Regions from separate parts of the Homo sapiens genome. Here region 2 is linked to region 1. The links are contacts of gene promoters, found by promoter capture Hi-C in blood cells and fetal thymus (Javierre and others, 2016). All regions are on one chromosome and are shown on one strand. Each heading gives the region's core, a stretch centred on a gene start or on the middle of the fragment in contact. The rest is flanking DNA. Distances are from core to core; before and after follow the strand shown.

The links. Contacts are between HindIII fragments. The CHiCAGO score rates a contact against its expected background, and 5 or more counts as called.
Region 2: a contact is called between a fragment that was not itself captured here and the fragment with the promoter of RRP1 in region 1, in 10 of 17 cell types (erythroblasts, megakaryocytes, endothelial precursors and 7 more). The highest score is 13.9, in erythroblasts.

The regions. Positions count from the first base shown.
Region 1 is chr21:43,785,702-43,791,119 of GRCh38, reverse strand. It overlaps RRP1 (ribosomal RNA processing 1), which reads right to left and starts at 1,543. Exons shown (of 13, transcript NM_003683.6): 1 at 1,358-1,543. The coding sequence starts at 1,490. RefSeq lists silencers at 1,133-1,302, 1,513-1,742 and enhancers at 1,373-1,482, 3,638-4,178, 4,179-4,720. The HindIII fragment of the contact is 31,682 bases long and covers 1-5,418 here.
Region 2 is chr21:43,937,165-43,942,173 of GRCh38, reverse strand. All of the region lies in intron 2 of AGPAT3 (1-acylglycerol-3-phosphate O-acyltransferase 3), which reads right to left. Among named protein-coding and RNA genes, the nearest start is that of TRAPPC10, 73 kb to the left of the region's middle. RefSeq lists a silencer at 1,241-1,412 and enhancers at 1,952-2,850, 3,094-3,493, 2,851-3,751, 4,030-4,079. The HindIII fragment of the contact is 4,356 bases long and covers 904-5,009 here.

The sequences.
Region 1 (5,418 bases), core at 294-2,793:
ACCGACTGAGATCTACAAGGTATCAGGCACCATACTCCATTTTGGAAATTCAAAATTGCGAACCTTGACGGTTTCCTAAGCTGGACAGTGGCCACAAGGTTAATCTGTTGGTGATAATTCATCCAGCATTATACTGAGGGCTTCTGCACTCTCCTGTAATATATCTCAAATACTAAAAGAAGAAAGTGAACTCAGGCATTCAGACTACGAGAGAAACAGAAATTACTGAGGCCAGGTGCGGTGGCTCACGCCTGTACTCCCAGCACTTTGGAATTGAGTGCTGAGGCAGGATCACTTGAGGCCAGGAGTTCAAGACCAGTCTGGGCAACATAGGAAGACCCCAATTTGTACAAAAAATACAAAACTTAGCTGGCCTGGCCGCACGGTGCCAGTAGTCCCAGCTATTGGGGAGGCTGAGATGGGAGGCTCACTTGAGCCTGGGAGGTAGAGGCTGCAGTGAGCTGTAATCGTGCCAATGCACTCCTCCACCACGGATGACAGTGAGGTCTGTCTCACTCAGAAAAATAACAAAAAATTTTAATTTAAAACATTACTCAGTTGACATTCACTGAAGTCCTATGTGTCTGGCAACCTGTTCCTGCAGCAGTGGTTCTCAGGCTGAGTGTGGGGAGCAGAAGCACTTGAACAGCTTCATAAAGCAGATGCCAGTCCTGATTTAGTAGGGCTGGGATCCTAGAACTTGCATTTCTTTCTTTTCTTTTGCGATGGAAATGGAGTCTTGCTATGTTGCCCAGGCTGGACTCCTGGGCCTTTGTGATCCTCCCACATCGACGTGCCAAGTAGCTGGGATTACAGGCTTGGGCCACTGCGCCCGGCATAGAACGTGTATTTCTAACAAATGTCCAGGGGATGCTACTGCTGATGGGGGACCACGCTCGGAGAACCACCTGGTACCATGAACAAGAAGTAGATTCTCGGCCCTCAGAGAGGTACTCTCGAGTGGAAATCGGAAAACAATCCAATAATTAACGCAAAACAGAAAACTGCAAACAGTGGGAAATGCTGCCATGAGGGAAAAATACTGGGTGCCCAAACAGCAGGGCAGCAGGAGTACATGGTCTACTGGAGGGAGGGGACGCCTGAGCTAGGAAAGGGGTTACGGGGCTGGGGAGGAGCGTTCTCGCAGAGGGACCAGAGTCACCGCACCACGAGGGAAAGCGGCGGCGGGGGCCGTGGGCCGGTAACAGCGGGAACAGGCCAGTGGACCCCGCCTGCCCGGCCCGGCCACGTGGAGGTTCCACAGGGCTCGGAGGGCCCCCAGCTCCGGCCGCCGCCGCCCACACCCGCACCAGCCCAGCCGGCCCCCGAGACGCCAGCCGCCCACACCCCCGCCAACCTGCGGCCCGCTGAGTCCTGGCGACGATGTATTTCCGGAGCTTCCTCACCGCCCGGTCCCGGGTCACCTGCTCATTCCCCGCCAGGCGCTGAGCCAGCTGGATCTCAGGCGGGAGCTGCACGCGCGAAACCATGACGCCGACGGCCGAGACCCCCTGTCCCGGAGTCGCCTGGTACCCAGCACACTGAGCACGCGCCTCCTGCGCCCGCCTCCTCCTGGCCCCGGCGCGTGGCGTGACGTCACAGCCCGCGACACCGCCCAGGCGCACGCCACCGCCGCGCAGTGGCCGAGCCGCGCAACTGCAGCCCCCGGAGGCCGAAGGCTACAGAGGGGGCGCGCGCTCCCTGCCTGTGCGCATGGGCGGAACCAGCGAGCGCGCGCCTGCGCCTGCGCCTGCGCCTCGCTGGGGCTGCGGTGGGTCGGGATTCTGAGGCAAAGATCTGTTGTTTTTTAATCTCATTTTATTTATAACCCCACTTGTATTTTTTTCCTGAGACAGGGTCTCGCTCTGTTACCCACGCTGGAGTGCAAGGCGCGATCTCGGCTCACTGCAGCCTTTGCCTCGCGGGCTCCAGGGATCCCCCAGCCTCAGCCTCCCGAGGAGCTGGGACCACGGGCGCCACCACTCTCGGCTCGAAACTTTATTTTTAAAACCAGGGGTGTGCCGGGCGCGGTGGCTCACGCCTGTAATTCCAGCACTTTGGGAGGCTGAGGCGGGTGGATCACGAGGTCAGGAGTTTGAGACCAGCCTGACCAACATGGTGAAACCCTGTCTCTACTAAAAATACAAAAATTAGCCAGGCGTAGTGGCGGGCGCTTGTAATCCCAGCTACTCAGGAGGCTGAGGCAGGAGAATTGCTTGAATCCGGGAGGCGGAGGTTGCAGTGAGTCGAGATTGCGCCGCTGCACTCCAGCCTGGGCGACAGAGTGAGACTCTGTCTCAAAAAACAACAACAAAAAAAAAAACGGGGAGGCTGCATTTGGCCTAGGGCCACAGTTTGACATACCCTGAAGTAGAAAAATATTCTTTATTTTTAGAAATAACTGCAGAACTCTTTGGTAAAGGTGACCTGTCATGATGTCTGTAATTCATTCTGCAAAAAAGTAAATCATTACACGCACATATGTGTATGCAGATAAGCAACTATGGCACACTGTTAACAGTTGTGGCGTTGGCCGGGCGCGGTGGCTCACGCCTGTAATCCCAGCACTTTGGGAGGCCGAGGCGGGCGGATCATGAGGTCAGGAGATCGAGACCATCCTGGCTAACACGGTGAAACCCCGTCTCTACTAAAAACACAAAAAATTAGCTGAGCGTGGTGGCGGGCGCCTGTAGTCCCAGCTACTCAGGAGGCTGAGGCAGGAGAATGGCGTGAACCCCGGAGGCGGAGCTTGCAGTGAGCCGAGATCGCGCCACTGCACCCCAGCCTGGGTGACAGAGTGAGACTCCGTCTCAAAAAAATACAAGTGTGGCGTCTACAGGCAGGAATACAGGTCTTCATTGACCTATCTTCTGACATTTTCTATGTATGAAATTTTTCATAAAAAGTTGAAAAGGCTGGCAGTGGTGGCTCATGCCTGTAATCCCAACCATCACTTGGGGAGGCCAAAGCAGGTGGATCACCCGAGGTCAGGAGTTCGAGACCATCCTGGCCAACATGGTGAAACCCCATCTCTACTAAAAATACAAAAATTAGCTGGGTGTGGTGGCGAGCACCTGTAATCCCAGCTACTCGGGAGGCTGAGGCAAGAGAATTGCTTGAACACAGGAGGCGGAGGTTGCAGTGAGCCAAGATCCGGCCACTGCACTCCAGCCTGGGCGACAGATTTTGAAACTCTGTCTAAAAAGAAAAAAAAAAGGAAACATTTAGCAACTGGTTTTAGAATCTGAATTAGTTCTTGTTGTTGTTGTTGTTGTTGAGACAGTTTCACTCTGTCGCCCGGGCTGGAGTGCAGTGGCACGATCTTGGCTCACTGCAACCTCCACCTCCAGGATTCAAGCAATTTCTGGCTAATTTTTGTGTTTTTAGTAGAGATGGGGTTTCACCATGTTGGCCAGGCTGATCTCGAACTCCTGACCTCAGGTGATCGGGCTGCCTCGGTCTCCCCAAAGTGCTGGGATTACAGGCGGGAGGCACTGCACCCAGCCAGCCTCTCCTCTTCTTATGAGGACGTCAGTCAGTGTGGACTTAGGCCTGCCTTAATTTAGCATGACCTCATGTTAACTAACCATGTCTGGAAAGACCCGTTTACCAAATTAAGGCCACATTCCGAGGTTCCAGCGGACATGACTTTCCGGGGGACAAGCACGAATGAGAAGAGGCCCTGCACTCACACAGTGGGTATGTCGCACGCACACACTGGGTATGTCACGCACAGTGGGCATGTTGCACGCACACAGTGGGCATGTCAGGCGCACAGTGGGTATGTCGCACGCACACAGTGGGTATGTTGCACGCACGCAATGGGCATGTCAGGTGCACAATGGGCATGTCAGGCGCACAGTGGGTATGTCTCGCACACAGTGGGTATGTCGCATGCACACAGTGTCAGGCACACAGTGGGTATGTTGCACGCACACAGTGGGTGTGTCGCGCACAATGGGCGTGTCAGATGCACAGTGGGTATGTCGCGCACAGTGGGTATGTCAGGTGCACAGTGGGTATGTGGCACGCACACAGTGGGCATGTCAGACGCACAGTGGGCATGTCACGCGCACAGTGGGCATGTCGCACACACACAGTGGGCATGTCAGGCGCACAATGAGCATGTCAGGCGCACAGTGGGTATGTCGCGCACACAGGGTGTGTCATGCGCACAGTGGGTGTGTCGCACGCACAGTGGGTATGTCGCACACACACAATGGGTATTTCACGCGCACAGTGGGTATGTCGCACTCACACAGTGGGTATGTCGCGCGCACAGTGGGTATGTCAGGTGCACAGTGGGTATGTCGCATGCAAACAGTGGGCATGTCGCACGCACACAGCGGGCATGTCAGGTGCACAGTGGGCATGTCGCGCGCACAGTGGGTATGTCGTGCGCACAATGGGTATGTCGCACGCACACAGTGGGTATGTTGCACGCACATAGTGGGCATGTCAGGCGCACAATGGGCATGTCAGGTGTACAGTGGGTATGTCATGCAAACAGTTGGTATGTTGCACACAGTGGGTATGTCGCATGCACACAGTGGGTGGTATCGTGCATGCAATGGGCATGTCAGGCTCACAGTGGGTATGTCAGGTGCACAGTGGGTATGTCTCGCACATAGTGGGTATATCAGGCACATAGCGGGTATGTCACACCCAGCTGCTGAGAACAGGGTGGGAGGGACTAAGCTGTACTAGGAGGGTGAAGTTGTGCACTGGGGAGCACACCTTCACACCAGGCTCGAGATGCCAGGCTTCAGACGGAAAGGACATGGCAGGTGGTCTCTAAAGATATGGAAGACTAAGATTTGGAAATCGAATAAAGTGGCTTTTAAAAAATCTCTTCTCGGGCTGGGCGTGCTGGCTCATGCCTGTAATCCCAGCACTTTGGGAGGCTGAGGTGGGTGGATCACGAGGTCAGGAGATCCAGACCTCATAGGTGAAACCCGTCTCTACTAAAAACACAAAAAATTAGCTGGGTGTGGTGGCGGGCGCCTGTAGTCCCAGCTACTTGGGAGGCTGAGGCAGGAGAATGGCATGAACCTGGGAGGCAGAGCTTGCAGTGAGCCGAGATAGCACCACTGCACTCCAACCTGGGCGACAGAGTGAGACTCCGTCTCAAAAAAAAAAAAATCTCTTCTGCTGGCATGACCTGTTGAAGGCAGAAACAAAAACGCTCTCCAGGGTAACCTCCTCCCCCTTTTTTTTTTGACAGAGTCTTGCTCTGTCACCCAGGCTGGAGTGCAGTAGCGTGATCTCAGCTCACTGCAACCTCCGCCTCCCAGGTTCAAGTGTCTCCTGTGTCAGCCTCTTGAGTAGCTGCAACTACAGGCGCCCACCACCACACCTGGCTAATTTTTGCATATTTAGTAGAGACAGGGTTTCGCCATGTTGCCCGGGCTGGTCTCG
Region 2 (5,009 bases), core at 1,832-4,331, 150 kb before region 1:
GGTTCCGGAAGCTCCCAGGTCGTACTGCAAGTGCCACTAAATGGCACCTGTGGGTACGCTGCCACGGCGCAGGCCACCACTTGAGGCCTCGAATTCCACAGCTAACTTACTGAAGACCTGAGGGCAAAGGAGAAATGCACATCCTTGGAAACGCTGTGGGTGAGGAGGTGGCACAGCCAGTCCCCTGCCACCTGGTCAGCAGGCTGAAGCTGAGAGGCTTGGCATAAGCCAATTACGAGCAGCTGCTCAGGCGCAATGCGGCACTCTTCCCAGACAGAGGCGCTCTTTTCCCAACACCTAATAGGTCTTTCATCATTTTGAGCATTTGTGAAACTGCATAGCTCAGCCACGAATCCCAGGAAATGATTTGATACCCTTTCTCCGCCCAGGCGCCAGGAACGGTCCGTGGAAGCTGCCAGAGTCGCCCGCTCGCTGGGGCCAGCCTGCCCTGTATACATGGCCCCCGTCACACTCGCGGTAGCCCCAGGTTGAGGATGAGTGAGCGGTTGCTCCTGGGGTTTTGGAACCCTCACCAATGACCGACCCCCTTGCTCAAACTCTCAGAGGCCCCAAATCCCAAGCTAATTTGTCTCCTAAATTCCACACTTAGGTTCTGTTTGTTTTTTAGAGATGGGGTCTCGCTCTGTTGCCCAGGCTGGAGTGCAGTGGCGTAATCACAGCTCACTGTGGCCTTGACCTCCTGAGCTCAAGGGATCCTCCTGCCTCAGCCTTAGGATTCTGTCTTTTGGCTCTGGGTAAACCTCTTTGTAAATAGTATTGATCGTTTTTACATAAACTGAGTCATGGGGAAGACTGGGCATCCTCCTGCCTGTGTCACCTGCAGTGACCCTCCCCGCTGTTAGCAATGGAAGTGCATTAATCGGATCTATAGAAGAGAAAGCTTCCAGATCAGAGAGAAGCAGCTCCTGGCCAAGTGTGCACCAAGAAAAACAAACACAGTCTAGCGTGGAACCTCCAGGGGAGCTGTGGTCTCTTCCTAGGAAATCACCTCGTTCTCCGGCTCTAGAAAATAAAGTTGGCACCCAGACTTGGGGTTTTTGGGTCCCCCCAGCTGCCCCCTGCACCACCTGGTACCATCATCACACACCCCATGGACAGAGGCTGGCACGCATCTTGTGCCCTTTGACCCTCTGCAGAAACAGCAGGCGGCATCAGTGTCCCGTTTTACCAACGAGCACTGGAGGCCTGGAGCACAAACACCCCATCTAATCCCAGCCCGGAGACACAGCGGGGTTGGGACCGAGTCTCTGAAATCCTAGGCCAGCGTGATCTGTGACACCTGCTGATTCTCGGCTTCTGCAGTAAGAGCCGGCACGGACTCTGGTCAAGGGCAGCTGGGAAATCGCCTGCGATCACCATAAACCAGCCCATCAGGCAATGGGTGTGACAGAGCAGCGCCACTTTGATGGTAACTACGCATTTTCTGCTCAGGGTGCAGATCACCATGTAAATCAGCCATCCTACAGCACCTGCCTTGGGGGGCAGTGGGAGTCTGTGCCCATACATCAGGCACTTGTCCGTCCCAGGACATGCCAGGCATCTACAAACACCGCCCAGATGGTATGAAACCGCTCAGCTCCTTCAGGAATGTTCTGAACAAAAACCCCTTTGCAGAAGGATGGGAGAGCTGCCCAAGGACCCCAGGAGGGATCAGAATGAGTTCCTGCCATCCCCTGCTTCCCTACCTCCCAGGAGTTCCCCTGCAAAGGGCTAGGCAGGGTTTGTTGACATGCAGAGAACGGTCCAGGGCTGGAAGAGGAGGGGAGCACACAGTAAAGGCCCCCAGGACTGCCCAGGCCCCCGGGCCCCGGCCTCACTCACCAGTAGAAGTAATAGGCCAAAGCCACCGCCAGCAGGGCCACACAGATCCCTGAGAAGAGGCAGGCCGGGTAGCTGCTCAGCATCTTCAGCCCTCGGTCCTGTGCTGCCTGAAGCCGGCGAGAAGGACCTGCGGGGAGCAGGTGTCAGCCTGGCCAAAGGGTGAGGAGCCGAGCTCAAGCGGAGGGATTAGGACCTGGCCTGAGCTGCCCAGGCTTGGCAGGGGCCGTTGCCACCCAGAGCATCTGCTCAGCAGGAAGTGGGTGCTGGGCACCCCCAGGGTGCCACCTGCGTGGCCAGCACTGTCCTTCTAGTCACAGAGACCAACTCAAGGGACCCCAGGAGCGCGCTGAAGCAGGACATACACACAGGTTCGTCCTCCTGCGCACAGCTGCGGGCTCTGCCGTCGGGGCACCGGCTAATCCAATAAGCAGCTTTTGGCCAGGAGCTGCTCACTGTAAACAGGCAGAGTCACAGGGCCAGCCAGGATGCAGGTCAACGAGCCCCACCCCAGCACAGACCCCTAGGACCAGGGACCTAAGAGTGCCCACATCTTCCTCCTCACAGCACCAGTGTGTCAAGGGGCCAGGTTGTGGGTGAGTTGGTGAGGTCTACCCTGTGCTCAGCCGTGGGCTAGCAAGATCCCTGAAAGGCCTCCAAGTGATAGGCAAACGTCCTGCATGTGGGGCATGGCTGTGGGCTCAACAGAGAACAGCCACCCAGCCTGCCGGACAGGCCAGGCGCCCGCGACACTCTCTCCAAACTGCAGCAAGGTTTGCTAAACGGTGGTGCTCCGGGTCCCATGTTCAGAGCTCCCACGCTGGAAGAGCTGTGGGGTGGGCCGCCTCTTATCCTCCAGAAGTCAGGCACGTCCCTCCATGTCACTCCAGCCTGAAACCTCTCAATCTGAAATGGAGTTCAAAGGCTAAACTAGGGAGATGAGATCAAAGGACCCAGGGACCAGAGCATCGCCCTGGGAAACCTCCTGGGGCGCGGGAGGCCCCCGACAACAACAGCGACGGGGGTGGGGTGTTATCAAGGGAGCGCCCGCTAGAGGCCCTCGACAGCACACGGGGACGGGGATGGGGTGTTCCTAAGGGAGCGCCCCCTGGAGGCCCGGCCAGTGCATTCTCGCTCAGGGTCACGGGGCCACAGTGGGATAAAGTGAAAGTCACTGCTCGTGCATCTCCCACGGCATCAGACACAACGAACCTGTCCCCAGCAGGGTTTGCCCAGGATGCTCCCCTAGCCTGGTCGCAGCCCCGTCCCAGCCCTGGTGCGGCCCCTGCGTGCTCTGTGGGAAACTGTGGACTGAGAGGTGGGAACCGCTCAGCTCAGTCCTGACATGCTCAGCCTTTACTTCTGTGAACCTGTGAACCTGGTGGAGGAGAGAGCGTGATGGGGCAGCCGCAGCCTTCCCAGGCCTGGGGGAGCCCCTCCTTCCCCCCACAAGGCTTCAGGTGACTGCATCCCCGGCCAACACATTGACCCCATGTGACTCCACGTGACACCCAGAATCGCCCGCTAAGCCACTCCTGGATTCCTGACCCTCCGCAGCTGTGTGAGATAATAGATGTCTGCTGTTTTCGCTGCTAAGTTTGTGGGTAACTCGTTACACAGCAATGTAACAAACACGGTAAGGCAACCAGGCAGATCAATATGAGGCGCACCATTTACTGGAAGTATTGGATGACTATTTATAGGGCTGGAGTTAGTGTCTGAACAAAATAGAAGATTTGCAGGCCGGGCACGGTGGCTCACACCTGTAATCCCAGCACTGTGGGAGGCCGAGGCTGGTGGATCACCTGAGGTCAGGAGTTTGAGACCAGCCTGGCCAACATGGTGAAACCCTGTCTCTATTAAAAATACAAAAAATTAGCATGCCTGTAATCCCAGCTTCTCAGGAGGCTGAGGCAGGAGAATCGCTTGAACTCGGGAGGCAGAGGTTACAGTGAGCACTCCAGCCTGGGCAACAAGAGCAAGACTCTGTCTCAAAAAAAAAAAAAAAAAAAAAAAAAGATTTGCAGATTCAAGAATTCTGACTTCTAATCCTCAGTACGTTCCTCAGTACGTTCCTTCTATCCCAATGAGCGATGTTAACTAACTTAGCTCTCTAGCGTAACATGCACATCATGGAACCAAGACATTCATTTAATCCTGTTAGCAGCCCAAGAAACCCAACAGTGAGTGTGAGTGTGTGTGTGTGTGTGTGTGTGTCTGTGTGTGTGTGAGAGAGAGAGAGAGAGAGAAAGTGGGGGAGAGAGGAGAAATGCAGCCCTCCCACCAGACAACAGCAAGCGTGTGAGCTGCTTCCTCCTCCCTCTGCAGCGAGGACCCAGACAACTTCCTTGGTCCAGCACTGTCTGCACAGTCACCCCAAAATATGCAAATATGACTGGCTGCCCACACAACCTCTGCCTGGCACTTCTTCTAACAAGAACCTGCCTGAGGTATAGAAGGCAATGGCTATGCAGAAGTCATCTGGTTTCATGGGATGCGTCCTAATGACTGCCTTAGAGATAGTTAATGAGAGAGAGAAAGGAGTCTTTTGGAGCTTCCAGAAAGGTTTCAGCCCCTGACAAAAGGTTGCAAAAAGAAATTTCCCTTTTCCTGTCCAGGCATGGTGGCTCACGCCTGTAATTCCAGCACTTTCGGAGGCAGGAGGATCACCTGAACACAGGAGTTCAAGGCTGCAGTGAGCCACGATTGCGCCACTGCACTTAAGCCTTAGTGACAGAGGGAGACCCTGTCTCCAGAAAAACAAAACAAAACAAAAAAAACTCCCTTTTCCTGACATCAGACTTATCTGTATCAAGTTGTGATGGCTGGTGCAGAGGCAGCCACGATGTCACCTCAAGGAGACAGGCCTGCAGTGGAAAGCAACCTAGAGGGTGGCCCAGAGGAGGAACAGATATAGTCAGGGGCCTTGCGCGCCTCCGCCAAGCCAAGCAAAGGCCAGCGTAGAGGAGCTGACCCCTGGGGCTTCCCACCTAGGTCAGCTCAAGGCAGATTCTGCTACTTTCAGCTCAATTCACCAGCGCCCCACCCAGTGGGCCTTTGGGACTCACACATATCTAGGGACCAACTTCTTATCTACATGCTTTGCATTTCCCAAAATCCAAAAGTCACTCATGGGTACCCCTGTGATAACAGCAAGCCTGAGTTTTCTC